2 separate regions of the Homo sapiens genome follow, and region 1 is linked to region 2. The links are contacts of gene promoters, found by promoter capture Hi-C in human tissues and cell types (Jung and others, 2019). All regions are on one chromosome and are shown on one strand. The core of a region is centred on a gene start or on the middle of the fragment in contact, and the rest is flanking DNA. Distances in the headings are between cores, read along the strand shown. Region 1 has its middle 17 kb from the start of TMEM65. Region 2 holds the start of FAM91A1 (family with sequence similarity 91 member A1).

Region 1 (6,667 bases), core at 1,385-3,884, 620 kb after region 2:
TAACATTGAGAAAAAATTCTTTAAAGTAGATAATAGATAATGAAAGGAATAGAAAATGGAAAATAAACGACAAAATCAGAGAATTAGGTCAGGAAGTACAGGATAGTTAAGGAAGATATAACAGTTTTGAAAATGTAAGGGAGAAAATTGTCAAAGAAATATTTGAAGGAAAGTTCCCCAAAGTGGAGGTCATTTGTTCTTGTTGTGCAGTGTACAGGCCTATGTAAACCTAACCCTAAAGTCCGAAGAAGGTGAGAGGCCAAAGAAAGAGGCTGACAAACCCAGTTTCTTATGAAGAAATCATTTAATAGAGACTTACAAACAGAAGCGATGTCTGTGTCTCAGGCAACTGCAAGATGAGATGGTGGATCCCCATACCATTAACCCCAAGACCCAGGGCTTATGTACCCTAGGGGAGAGGTTGTTCAGAAGGGATGTTTAGAACAATTGTAGTATGATAACATCAAAATTGTTTGACCTAGGGGCAGGATTTATAATAAGTACCTGCTCTTACACAAGGAACAATAGATAAATTGGAAATCTTAGATGCTTTCTTGGAATAGGGGCTAATTAGAGGCCAACATGATGGATTAACTTCCAAGATGGAGTTCCTTTAGCCTCCACAGTTCCCAGATTGAGAAGGTCTGCTATGGGCTCAGAAAACTGGATGAAAAAAGAGAAAATCCACTCTAAGTCATGTCATCATGACATTTCAGATTACTAGGGACAAAGAGAAGATACTAAGTGTCTAGCAGCAAAGTCAATGGTGGAAGGCAGATAACTATCAAGGAAAGTTCAAGTAAAAAGGTTCCCCTTTTAGAATGGTTTCGGACATCTCAACAGCAATGCTAGAAGCCAGAACACAATGGAACTTATTTCCAATCTAGAATTCTATACCCAGCAATCTAGTGTGAGAGCTGATTACAACTTTTTCACATGTCAGAGACTCAAAATATTTATATCTCATGCTTCATATCAGGAAGAACCTGGAAGATGTGCTCCATCAAATTGAAGGAATAAACCAAGAGATTCAGGAAATGAGATCTAAGACAGTAGTGAGGAAAAAAGAATGGATGACAAAGGGAAATTATAGGGCGACAGGCCTAGGAAGCAACCGGGATATGTGGGACCAAGGCAAGGGGAAGTCTTGGGAGGTATGCCTCTAACAAAGAGATGGACTTAATCAGCTTATCTGATATATTTGAAAATATTGAATGGAGAGTTATACTCCGTGGGAGTTTGGAGATGAATTAGTAACAGGTTCCTAGAAAACTTGCCAAACAAAAACTGAGGCAATTTTTAACTCTACTAATAAAAATTCCATTAGAGAAGAAATACAATACATTAAAAGGTGACAGGTAAGCAGTATTTACAGTAGCATAATAACACAGAATGTTGATTTAACCTAAAATTATGATATATCTAAACTGAGCAGACTGGGGAGAGGAAGTATTAGCCTGCTCAGTCTGCTATAATAAAATACCATAGTCTTGGTGGCTTAAGCAACAGGAAGTTATTTACCTGAGTTCTGGAGGCTGTAATGTCCAAGATCAAGGTGCTGTCAAGGTAGGTTTTATTCTGACACCTCTTCTCTTAGCTTATAGACAGCCATCATCTCTCCATGTATTCAAATGGACTTTTTTTTGTGTGCATGTAAACAGGGGGAAGTGGTAAGGAGCAAGGAAGCTCTCTGTTATCTCTTCTTTTTGCTGTAGCAAATAACTTAATCTTTAATGGCATATTCCATGAACAACCCCAAAACTATATGGATTAAAATACAGCATTACTTTATATCACACTACAAAGCAAACACCATACCTTGTAAGTTAAATTGATAGTAAGATGGTTTCTAAATTAAGTGATAGGAAACTGTGAAAAAAATGTAATACAAGAATTTATCAAATATCCAAAGTCACTTTTCTTTTTTATATCTTCTGGAGTTCTTTTTCCAGTGAGCTTGTGGATTCTGTGAGTATAGATCATGATATACACTTCTATAAACACTATCGGGCCTATCTTTTTAAAACATTATATGTATTTATTTTTTCCTTTCAATAGCTTTTGGCACATGTGGTTGGTTATTAGTTACATGGATAAATGGTATAGTGGTGAAGTAAGGGCTTTTAGTTTACCTGCCACCTGCATGGTATACATCACACCCTATAGGTATTTTTTTATTCCTCACCCCCCTCCCATGCTCCCCACTTCTGAGTCTCCAATGTCCATTATGCCTCTCTGTATGTCTTTGTGTATCCGTAGCATAGCTCCCACTTATAAGTGAGAACATACAGTATTTGACTTTCCATTCTTGAATTACTTCACTTAAAATAATGGCCTCCAGCTCTATCCAATTTGCTGCAAAAGACATTAGTTCATTCTTTTACGTGGCATATATGTATATATGTATACCACATTTTCTTTATCCACTCATCATCACTTAATGGGTACTTAGGCTGATTCCATACCTTTGCAAATGTGAATTGTGCTTTGATAAACATATACATGCAAGTGTCTTTTGTATATGATGACTTCTTTTCCTTTGGGTAGATACCCAGTAGGGGGATTGTTGAATCAAATGGTAGGTCTACTTTTAGTTATTTAAGAAATCTCTGCCCAGGCATGGTGGCTCATGCCTGTAATCCCAGTACTTTGGGAGGCCAAGGCGGGCAGATCATGAGGTCAGGAGTTTGAGACCAGCTTGGCCAACATAGTGAAACCCCGTCTCTACTAAAAAACACAAAAAAATACAAAAATTAGCCAGGCATGGTGGTATGTGCCTGTAGTCCCAGCTACTTGGGAGGCTGAGGCAAGAGAATCGCTTGAACCTGGGAGGTGGAGGTTGCAGTGAGCCAAGATCACGCCACTGCACTCCAGCTTGGGCAACAGAGTGACACTTCGTCTCAAAAAAAAAAATAAAAAAGAAATCTCCATACTGTTTTCCACAGAGGTTGTACTGATTTACATTCCCATCAATAGAATACAACATTCCCTTTTCACCATATCTGTGCCAATATCTATAGTTTTTTCCCCTTTTAATAATGGCCATTCTGGCTGGGGTAGGATAGTATCTCATTGTGGTTTTAATTTTCATTTCCTTGATGATTAGTGATATTCAGCATTTTTCTTATACTTTTGTTGGCCATTTTTATATCTTCTTTTGAGAGATGTTTATTCATGTCATTTGCCTGCTTTCTGATGAGACTATTGGTTCTTTTCTTGCTGATTTGTTTGAGTTCCTTGTAGAGTCTGAATATTAGTCCTTTGTCAGAGGCACAGTTTGCAGATATTTTCTTCCGTTCTTTCGGTTATGTGTTTACCCTGATGATTATTTCCTTCATTGTTCAGAAACTTTTTAGTTTCACTAAGTCCCATTTATTTTTGTTTTGTTGCATTTGCTTTTGGGGTCTTAGTCATAAATTTTTTGCCTAGCCCCATGTCTAGAAGAGTTCTCTCTATGTTTTCTTCTAGAATTTTTATGGTTTCAGGTCTTAGATTTAAGTATTTTATCCATCCTGAGTTGATTTTTGTATATGGTGAGAGATAGGGATCCAGTTTTGTTCTTCTACGTGAGGCTATCCATTTTCCCAGCATCATTTATTGAATAGGATGTCCTTTCCTCAATGTATGTTTTTGTGTGCTTCTCAAAGACCAGTTGGTTGTAAGTATTTGTCTTTATTAATTGGTTCTCTATTCTGTTCCATTGGTCTATGTATCGACTTTTATACCAATACCATGCTGTTTTGGTTACTATAGCCTTTTGGTATAATTTGAAGTTGGGTAATGTGCTGCCTCCATATTTATTATTTTTGCTTAGGATTGTTTTGGTTATTCAAGTTCTTTATTGGTTTCATATGCATTTTAGGATGGTTTTTTCTAATTCTGAGAAAAATGATGAGTCTTTAGGGTTTTCTAGATATATGATCACATCATCCGCAGTAGTAGTTTGACGTCCTCTTTTCCAGTTTGTTTGCCCTTTATTTATTTCTCTTGCCTGATTGCTCTGGCTAGGACTTCCAGTACTGTGTTGAATAGAAGTGGTGAAGGTAGGCATCCTTGTCATGTTCCACTTCTCAGGAGGAATGCTTTGAACTTTTCTCCATTCAGTATAATGTTGCCTGTGAGTTTGTCATAGACGGCTTTTATTATTTTGATGTATGTTCCTTCTATGGTTAGTTTGTTAAGGGTTTTTGTTATAAAGCAATACTGGATTTTATCAAATGCTTTTTCTTCATCTATTGAGATGATCATGTGGTTTTTGTTTTAATTCTGTTTATGTGATGTATCACATCTGTTTACTTGCATAGGTTAAATTATCCTTGGATCCCCTAGTGAAACTCATTTGATCATGGTGTATCATCTTTTTGATGTGCTGTTGGATGCAGTTTGCTAGTATTTTGTTGAGCATTTTTGCATCTGTTTGTATCAGGGATATTGGTCTTTAGTTTTCTTTTTTTGTTATGTCCTGTCCTGGATTTGGTATTATGGTGACATTGGCTTCATTAGTGAGTTAGGAAAGATTCCTTCTTTATCAATCTTTTGGAATAGTTTCAGCAGAGTTAGTACCAGTTCTTCTTTGAATGTCTGGTAGAATTCAGCTGTGAATTCATTTGGCCTGGGCTTTTTTGTTGTTTTTGGCAATTTTTTTATTACTGATCAATCATATTGCTTGTTATTGTTCTGTTTAATGTTCCTATTTATTCCTGATTCAATCTAGGAGGGTTTTATGTTTCCAGGAATGTATCTATTTTCTCTAGAATTTCTAGTTTGTGTGCATAGAGGTGTTCATAGTAGTCTCAAATTATCTTTTATATATCTGTGGTGTTGGTGGTAATGTCTCCAATTTTATTTCTGATTTAGCTTACTTAAATCCTTTCTTCTTGTTTAATCTAGCTAATGGTCTATTGATTTCATTCATCTTTTCAAATAATCAACTTTTTGTTTCATTGATCTTTTGTATTTTTCTTTCAATTTCATTTAGTTTTACTTTGATCTTTGTTATTTATTTTCTTCTGCTAGCTTTGGGTTTGGTTTTTTCTTGTTTCTCTAGTTCCTTGAAGTATGAATTTGTGATCTTTCAGACTTTTTTATGTAGGCATTTGGCACTATAGACTTTCCTCTTAGCACTGCTTTTGCTATATCTCAAAGGTTTTGTTAACTTGTGTCACTATTATCGTTCATTTCAAAGATTTCCATCTTGATTCCATTGTTAACCCAAAAGTCATTCAGGATTAGATTGCTTAATTTCCATATATTTGTAAAGTTTTGAGGGTTCCTTTTGGAGTTCATTTTTAGTTTTATTCCACTGTGGTTTGAGAAGATACTTGATATGATTTCAATTTTTTAAATTTATTGAGACTTGTTGTGTGGTCTATTATATGATCTATCTTGGAGAATGTTCCTTGTGCTGATGAGAAGAATGTATATTCTTCAGCTCTTGGGTAGACTGTCATAAATATACGTTAGGTTCATTTGTTCAAAAGTGTAGTTTAAGTCCAATGTTTCTTTGTTGACTTTCTTCCTTGATGATCTGTCTAGTGCTGTCAGTGGAGTGTTGAAGTCTCCCACTATTGTCATGTTGCTGTCTATCTCTTTCTTATGTCCAGTAGTAATTATTTTATGAATCTGGGAGCTCCAGAGTTAGGTGCATATATATTTAGGATTGTAATTTCTTCTTGTTGCATTGATCCTGTTATCATTATACGATGGCTTTCTTTGTCTTTTCTTATTGTTGTTGCTTTAAAGTCTTTTTTTTTTTTTTTTTTTTGAGACAAGCTCTTGCTTTGTCACCCAGGCTGGAGTACAATGGTACAATCTCAGCTCACTGCAACCTCCACCTCCCATGTTCAAGCAATTCTCCTGTCTCAGCCTCCTAAGTAGCTGGGACTACATGTGGATGCCACTGCACCCCGCTGAATTTTTGTATTTTTAGTAGAGATGGGGTCTCACCATGTTGTCCAGGCTAAGTCTATTTTACCTGATATAAGAATAGCTTCTCTTGCTTGCTTTTGTTTCCATTTGTGTGGAATATCTTTTTCCATCCCTTTACCTTGAGTTTATAAGAATCCTTCTGTGTTGACTGAGTTTCTTGAAGACAGCAGATATTTGGTTTGTGATTTTCTATCTATTCTGCCAATCTGTACCTTTTAAGTGTAGCGTTTAGACCACTTATGTTCAATGCTAATATTGAGATGCGAGGTACTGTTCCAGTCATCATGCTGATTGTTACCTAGACATTTTGTTTTCTTCATTGTGTTATTTCTTATAAGCCCTGTGAGTTGCATGCTTTCAAGAGGTTCTACATTTTGTTTCAAGATTTAGAATTCTATTTAGCATTTCTTTTAGGATGGTCTGGTAGTGACAAATTCACTCAGCATATGTTTGTCTAAAAAAGACTTTATTTCTCTTTAATTTATGAAACTTGGTTTTGCTGGACATAAAATTCTTGGATGATAGTTATTCTGTTTAAGAAGGTTAAAGATAGGACCCCAGTCCCTTCTGGCCTGTAAGGTTTCTCCTGAGAAGTCTGCTGTTAGTCTGATAGGTTTTCCTTTATAGGTTATCTGACACTTTTATCTCACTGCCCTTAGAACTCTTTCCTTCACATTGACTTTAGATAGCCTAATGACTGTATGCCTTGGTGATATCCTTTTTGCAGTGAATCTCCTAG
Region 2 (6,844 bases), core at 2,591-5,090:
AAAATAATGCAGGGGAGGAGGATGCAGAGGGTTGGAGATATGTTACGATTTTGAATAAGGTGGTCAGGGAAGGCTTAACTGAGAAGTAGCACTTGAGAGCTCAGGTATCACATAACTAGTTCATGCATTCAATACAATCAATGGTATTTATTGAGCACTTATTATATATGATGCATGATTCTAGGTCCTAGAGATAAACTGATGAACAAGAAAGCAAAGTCCTTCCTTCCATGCAGAGACAGACAACAAGCAAGGAGCCAAACAGGATAATGTTGGACAGTAATTCCTTACAATGAAGGACATGAACAAGGTAATGAGAGAGGTAATGAGGTTAGAGGGAGGTTGAGGGGAGAAGTGGCTAGGTTGGACAAGGTAGTTGGAGAAGGCCACTCTAAGTGACAGCAGGTGGACTCAAAGGAACCTGCTGTGCAAAGGTCTGGGGAAAGGCATTCAAGGTGGAGGGGATTAGAAGGGTAAAAACTGGGAGGTGGGAACAAGCAAGGCTAAGGTGTCTGGCATGGAGATAAAATGGTTCATGGAACAGAGCAAATCATATACGGTATGGAAACCCACGACTAAGGTCGGACTCAGGCAAAATTGTGAAACAGAAAAATGTTACAGTGACTCCCTTTCCTCTCTTTTTTCTGGACACCATTTCCTCCCCTACAGGTGCTTCTCTAGCCTCATTTCATCCCTAAGCTCTATCTCTTTCAAACTTGCTCTCAGAAAAGGATGTGACAGCTCATGTATACTTAAAAAATAATAAGGCTTAAAGGGAATTATTCCTCCTAAGGGCATTTAATCACAATGACTTTAATTATAACATTTGATGCATCAGCTATTTGGGTGTTGGAATATTTTATTGTTGGGGAGTATATTAATTTCCTATTGCTGATGTAACAAATTACTATAAATTTGGTGCCTTGAAATCACACACATTTATTATCTTACATTTCAGGAGATCAGAAGCTCAAAATGGCTCAGCAGGGCTGTGCTCCTTTTGGAGAATCCATTTCTTCCAGTTCCTAGAAGCTGTTCACATTCCTTGGCCTGTGGCCCTGTATCACTCTGATCTCTGCTTCTGTTGTCACATCACCTTCTCTAACTCTGACCCCCTGCCTCCCTCTAATAAGGACCTCGTGATTATCTTGAACCCACTTGGATAATTCAAGATTATCTCCTCATGTCACGATGCTTAACTGCATCTGCAAAGTCCCTTTTACCATATAAGGGGCAAATTCACAAGTTCTAGGCATTAGGATGTGAACATCTTTGGGGACTATTATTATTCCTACCACAGGGCATGACATTCTGGAGTCTATGAGTGGGGTCATTAGATGGCTCCCTATTTTCAGGTAGTTTCTGCTCATTATTTCTGTTGGAATTTTGGGAATGAAATAGTTCTGTAGTCTTTCTAAAGGGCCAATTGCCTAAGCTAGTTGGGCAGTTTTCCTCAATCTGATCTTGTAAAGCCAGATAAGACTGAATTTCATTGCACTTGTTTGTGCTTTTGAACACTTTTTTTTTTTTTTTTTTTAACCCACAGTGTTAATTCGAATGGCAGCTTCTGGGATGGGACTTAAACACTCTGCAGTTTCTGACCTCTGTGGAATTTGAAAAGCCAAAGGTCTAGTAAAGTAAAAATTAGCAGGAGCCTCAGTCAGGGACGTAAAGGAAGGACATTATTGCTAAACGAAAAGGTGAGGTGCTGTAATGAGTGTCACATGTGGAGTCAGTCTAGTGAGCGACTGTTTCCAGCTTTCTGATGCTTGGGGAAGCAGTACTGTTCCTGAACTTCCCAGCAGAGGGGGTCATAGAGCCCTGTGGGTTAATTTACCGTCTTTGAACTCCTATCCTCTCAAAGACTGGTCCTTGGTGGGAAATGAGGCAGATCAGTACTTTAATAAGATTGTGTATTAAGCCAGAGTCCATCACTGGTTCCTGCTCGTAAGGGCTTGTTATTTGAATTCTTCCCATCCACATAGCTCTATCTCATTCCCATTTCCTCCTTCATGTGTCTGCTTTTCTCAGCTACTTGCCGAGTGAGAATCTTTTCTAGTCACAGGGTCGCATTTTCAAAGGTCTGTTTGCCTTATTAATTTAATGGGTGTAGGTTCACCTCTACTTATCCCACGTTCACTTTTATAGTTTTTGATGTGTCCACTAAACTCAATATAGTGAGTTTATCAGGCATTCACCTGCTGAACTGCTATCATTAGCTAAAATAATAGTTTACAGGGATTTTTTTAAGCTAAATTGACTTTAATTTTCATTGTTACTTATATTGCATTAGATCTAAGTTAGACTTTGGAAGAATATGGGTTCTTCCACACTTAGAACTGTAAAGCATTATTTTAGAGGATGTTTATGTCGTTGACTTTGAATGAACATTGTCTAAATTGGAACAGGAGGTAGAAGAGTTCAGTGAGTGAGAGCCTGAGTTGGGGAACTGAAAGGATGGCTCTGGAGTGAGGATAGCCTTCGGCTCCAGTTTGGCTCTGTCAGTGCTACCTGTGTGATCTTGCGAGCAAGTCATGAAGCCCTGCCAAGCCTCAGTCTCCTCCTCTATCAAACTGGGATAGTAAGTGGTTACTGTTGTAGGAATATCAGGGTTGTGAGGAATAATCTATTGTCAAGTCAAGGCCTTAATACATGGCGGGCAGGTAATCAATATTTGTTGAATAAATGTCTCACGGTTAGAGTTCAGTTAACCTTAGCTATGCTGATGAGGATCTGTAAACATAAGGTTCAAAGCACTTATCTTTGGGTTATTATAGTTGGATAATAGGAGACCAAAACATCTAAGCAAGGGCAGTGTGTACTTGTCACCTTTATTTCATCAGACATAATGGGGTTTCTGCTAAGCATCAGACTTGCCAGCTGTTGAGGTGTGAGCTAGGTATCTTATAAAAAGTTCTAAGTATACATCTCCCAGTATATAATAAAACATTATTTAAAACCATTGTTAAAAACTGAAAAACAGTTGCAATAACACTGAACTTGTCTCTGGTTGCTGCCAGGAATAATGGTCACGGGTTTGCTAAGGCAGCGTAACAACTTCTGAAAGAAATTATTCCCAAAGACCTTATCACTCAATCTGAAATTAAGACATGCTGGATTTTTGCTTTTAAGTGACTCTGGAGGCATTTGTGTGGAGCAGAATAAAGCAGAAACCGACAGGCTGCATGACAAAGTTGGCAAGGGTATCTCTCTGTCAGCCCTGTAGGCTGCCTCGACCTGTCAGCACCACTGTTTAAAATTTCAGCTCCCTGAATCCCTGCATTGTAAGAATTTGGATCTTCTTGGGAAGTGGAGCCCAATGACGTGCAGCACACCGCGGAAGGGAAGAGGGCTTACCAGACCTTTGCTCTCCCACTGCCCATGCTTCTCGCTCAACCCGGTGCGAGACCTGACTTAGAGATTATTTCTTTCTCCAGGGCCCTGGACCCGTCCCCGCAACCCCCCGCCCCGTCTCACTGGCCCGGGTTCCGGGCTGGCCTGTGGAGAACCCCCGCGAGCGCACCGCACTCCAATGTAAAGCCAGCCACTGCCGGCCCGCTTCCCAGGTCGCTTTTCTCTGAAAACCGACCCCAGTGCCTCCGGCTTTACAATTTGAGTAAACTGGGTCATCAGCAACGGCAACGCAGACCCAAGCGACTATCGCCGTTCATTCAGAGACTGAAACGGGGAGACGAAGCGCGCGGGCGGGGAACGCTCACCCGGGCACCTCCCGGTACCTCGTCGTCGCCCCGCCCCGCAGCCTGTAGAGGGCGTGGCTAGAGGCCAGTCCGTGCCCCGCCCCTCCGGCCGCGCGCCAGCGGGCGGAAGTGACGTGTGCCCAGAGCCATTTCCGGCGGCCCGAAACTAGGAAGAAACTTGGAGCTGTTCAGGCGATCCAGCCTCCAATCGCTGCTGCTCTTGTACTCGGTTGGCCCGGGCGGCGCTGAACTGTCGGGAGCCTAGGCCATGGGGCAGCCTGGGCCTTCTGCAGTGTGAGGCGCGGGGCCTCCCGCGTCGCTCCGCTGACAGGCTGCGGGCGGGCAGGCGGGAGGCGTAGTGTGGGTCGCGGTGGCGGCCCCGGCCGCCGGCCCTGGCCGCGGCATCATGAACATAGACGTGGAGTTCCACATCCGGCACAACTACCCCTGGAACAAGTTGCCGGCCAACGTGAGACAGGTACGGCCGGAACCTGGGACCGGGCCCCTGACGGATTCGGCCCGCCCAGCGGTCACCTGCTTGCCTCGCTCGCGGGGCCCGAGCGGGCTGCTGCCGGCTGACTCCCTTCCTTTACTCCTCCGTGGTCTTGGGGAGACGGACCTTCAGCCCAGGGCGAGGAGGGGACGGCTGTGGGGCCACAGGGCCAGGACGGGGCGATCGCTAAATGGGATGGCATGGTGTCCACAGGACTCGACTGGCGCCTTTGCCCGCAGGATACATTCAGCCAGGCACCTGCGATAGAGATTTTAAACACGGTCCTTGACCTCCGGAATTTCAGGATGGTGGGAAAGGGATGGGAAACAAATGAATACGATACAGGATGATAGCAGCTCATACACACCTGCATTGTAGTATATGTGAGAGCAGAGGGAGGGAGAAATTATCCTGGGAGAGTTGGAAGGATTTTTAAGGCAGGCACTTAAATTGGGCCTTGGAGGACGAATAAGAGTTAAATAAGAGGGAATAAAGATTTTTCCAGGGGGAGGGAAAGTCATTTTACAAAGCTTGGATGAGTGAAAGAACATGTCTCATGAGTAGCAAGTGACTGTATCACCAGAGTTTGGACTGACATGTTTGGAGTTGAAGTTTTTTGAGTGCGCGGGGCTGGTAGCAGATGAGCCTGGAAAAGTGGTCAGGGCCAGATTTTGAAGGTGCTTGTGTGCTTTGTTTTGTTGGACTTTATCCTCCAGACAAGATGGGTTTATCAGAGATGTTTCAACAAGAGTGACATGAGGTTTTTGAAAGTTAATTCTCGATTTTTTTAGTCTGTTTTACTCAATTGTTTAATAGATATTTATTGACCACCTACTAGGTGCTGTGCGTTGCTCTAGGTGCAGGTAATTTGCAACAGTCAACAAGACAAAGACTGCCTTCATGGAGCTTACATTTTACTAAAGAAAGACGTAAACAAATAAATGAATAAATACGTAACATAGCAGATGGTTTTAAGTCTTACGAAAGTAGTGATATGGGCTACAGATAACGCACTGCTGCTCTGGTCATAGATTGACCTTCGCTTCCTCCCATTATACTTGGTCGAGAGTGAAATTCAGTTTTCTGTTGGCACTCGGCAGTGGCATTTTTGGGAAGTTTGGAATGGTGGCGGTGATGGTATATAAGGATTATTTATTTATTTTTATTTTTATTTTCATTTCTTTGAGACAGAGTCTCCTGTTGCCCAGGCTGGAGTGCAGTGGTGTGATCTCCGCTCACTGCAAACTCTGCTTCTTGGGTTCAAGCGATTCTCCTGCCTCAGCCTCCCGAGTAGCTGGTACTACAGGTGCGCGCCACCACGCCCAGCTAATTTTTGTATTTTTAGTAGAGACGGGGTTTCATCATGTTGGCCAGGCTGGTCTCGATATCTTGACCTCATGATCCGCCCGTCTCGGCCTTCCAAAGTGCTGGGATTACAGGCGTGAGCCACAGTGCCCAGCCAGTATGAGGATTGTTATAGTTTAGTTTACTTTGCTCCCTTCCTCCCTTGGGGATTTAGTGCCAGGAAGTGAATATTAAGGTTCTGGTCATGCATCATGTGGCCAAGAAAATGCTTTCACTTTAATATAGCAAAAACCGAGAAAGATAAATTTAAAGAACTTGAATTCTTGGGTGTCAGTGGCTGCCCGTGTGGCATTTATCTTAAACTGGGAGAACAAAGCTCTAAACCTGAAGGAATAAATTTCTTTTGTTAATCTTGAATAAAGGCTTTAAAGGACACTTTTGTACTTTAGGGTTTTGTGGCAAATCCAAAGACACAAGAAGAACAAACAGTTCTTCTTTTCTTTGTTTCCATTTTTTCTCTACTCTTTTCATCAGAATAAATGTAGCATACTGGAAGAAAGATGAGTGATGAGATTATATCCAACATGAATATTTGACTTTAATTAGTATTGGCAAAAGAGTTTCTAAAACGTAGTCATGACTATTTAAAAATAATCATGGGACAGTTAAAATTAGGTCTAAATGTGAAATTAAGTATGTTTTTGTTTTTAAAATCACTTGAAAAACAGTGGCTATTTTAGCTTAGGATAAGGTTGGCCATTTGTAGATGTTGCAAAACATCTGTACAAGTTTACTTCCAAGGACCTTCTCTAGCCTAATCACTGCTTCCCTAGGCCGAGCTCCATCTGAGATTACTACATCAGCCTTCTCTCTGGTCTCTTGCTCTTAGAATAGGACTTTCTCTGCATTCTTCATGCTACTCTGGGGGTGAGGCTTCTGAAATGCAAACCCAACCTTATTACTGCTGGTCTCCTTTATATTGCTTGTATTAATAGCATATTTTGATTCTCACTCTGATACTGCTCCTGGGAGGTTTCCCTGACCACCTAAATCTGTGGTGGTTGCCCCTAGGCTATCTTACCATTGCATTGTATTCCTCACCTGTCATAGAGCTTACCCCGCTATGGTGCATTTTGTGGTTACAATACTGGCTTTGCTTTTGTCCCATGAGCACCTCTCACATACTTGGCTTTTAGTATTTGTGGCTGAGCACCTAAAGCTCAGTCAGTTTAAACTTGGGGAATATTCCTTCTATGGAAAGAATTTGTCTTTTGGCATTATAGATTTTTAGACACTTCGATGTCGTTTCCAGTAAGTTTTGATGGGTTTACCTTGAAAATGACTCATT

The links. Contacts are between HindIII fragments. The study calls those that stand out against the background at their distance.
Region 1: a fragment that was not itself captured here is called in contact with the fragment with the promoter of FAM91A1 in region 2 in 1 of the 25 tissues and cell types used here (hippocampus).

The regions. Positions count from the first base shown.
Region 1 is chr8:124,386,368-124,393,034 of GRCh38, forward strand. No RefSeq gene overlaps it. Among named protein-coding and RNA genes, the nearest start is that of TMEM65, 17 kb to the left of the region's middle. The HindIII fragment of the contact is 9,306 bases long and covers 1-6,667 here.
Region 2 is chr8:123,764,599-123,771,442 of GRCh38, forward strand. It overlaps FAM91A1 (family with sequence similarity 91 member A1), which reads left to right and starts at 3,841. Exons shown (of 24, transcript NM_144963.4): 1 at 3,841-4,176. The coding sequence starts at 4,105. LOC105375739 (a long non-coding RNA gene) reads left to right here. Exons shown (of 3, transcript XR_928607.4): 2 at 185-310; 3 at 1,547-1,648. RefSeq lists silencers at 4,027-4,176, 5,745-5,794. The HindIII fragment of the contact is 9,142 bases long and covers 1-6,174 here.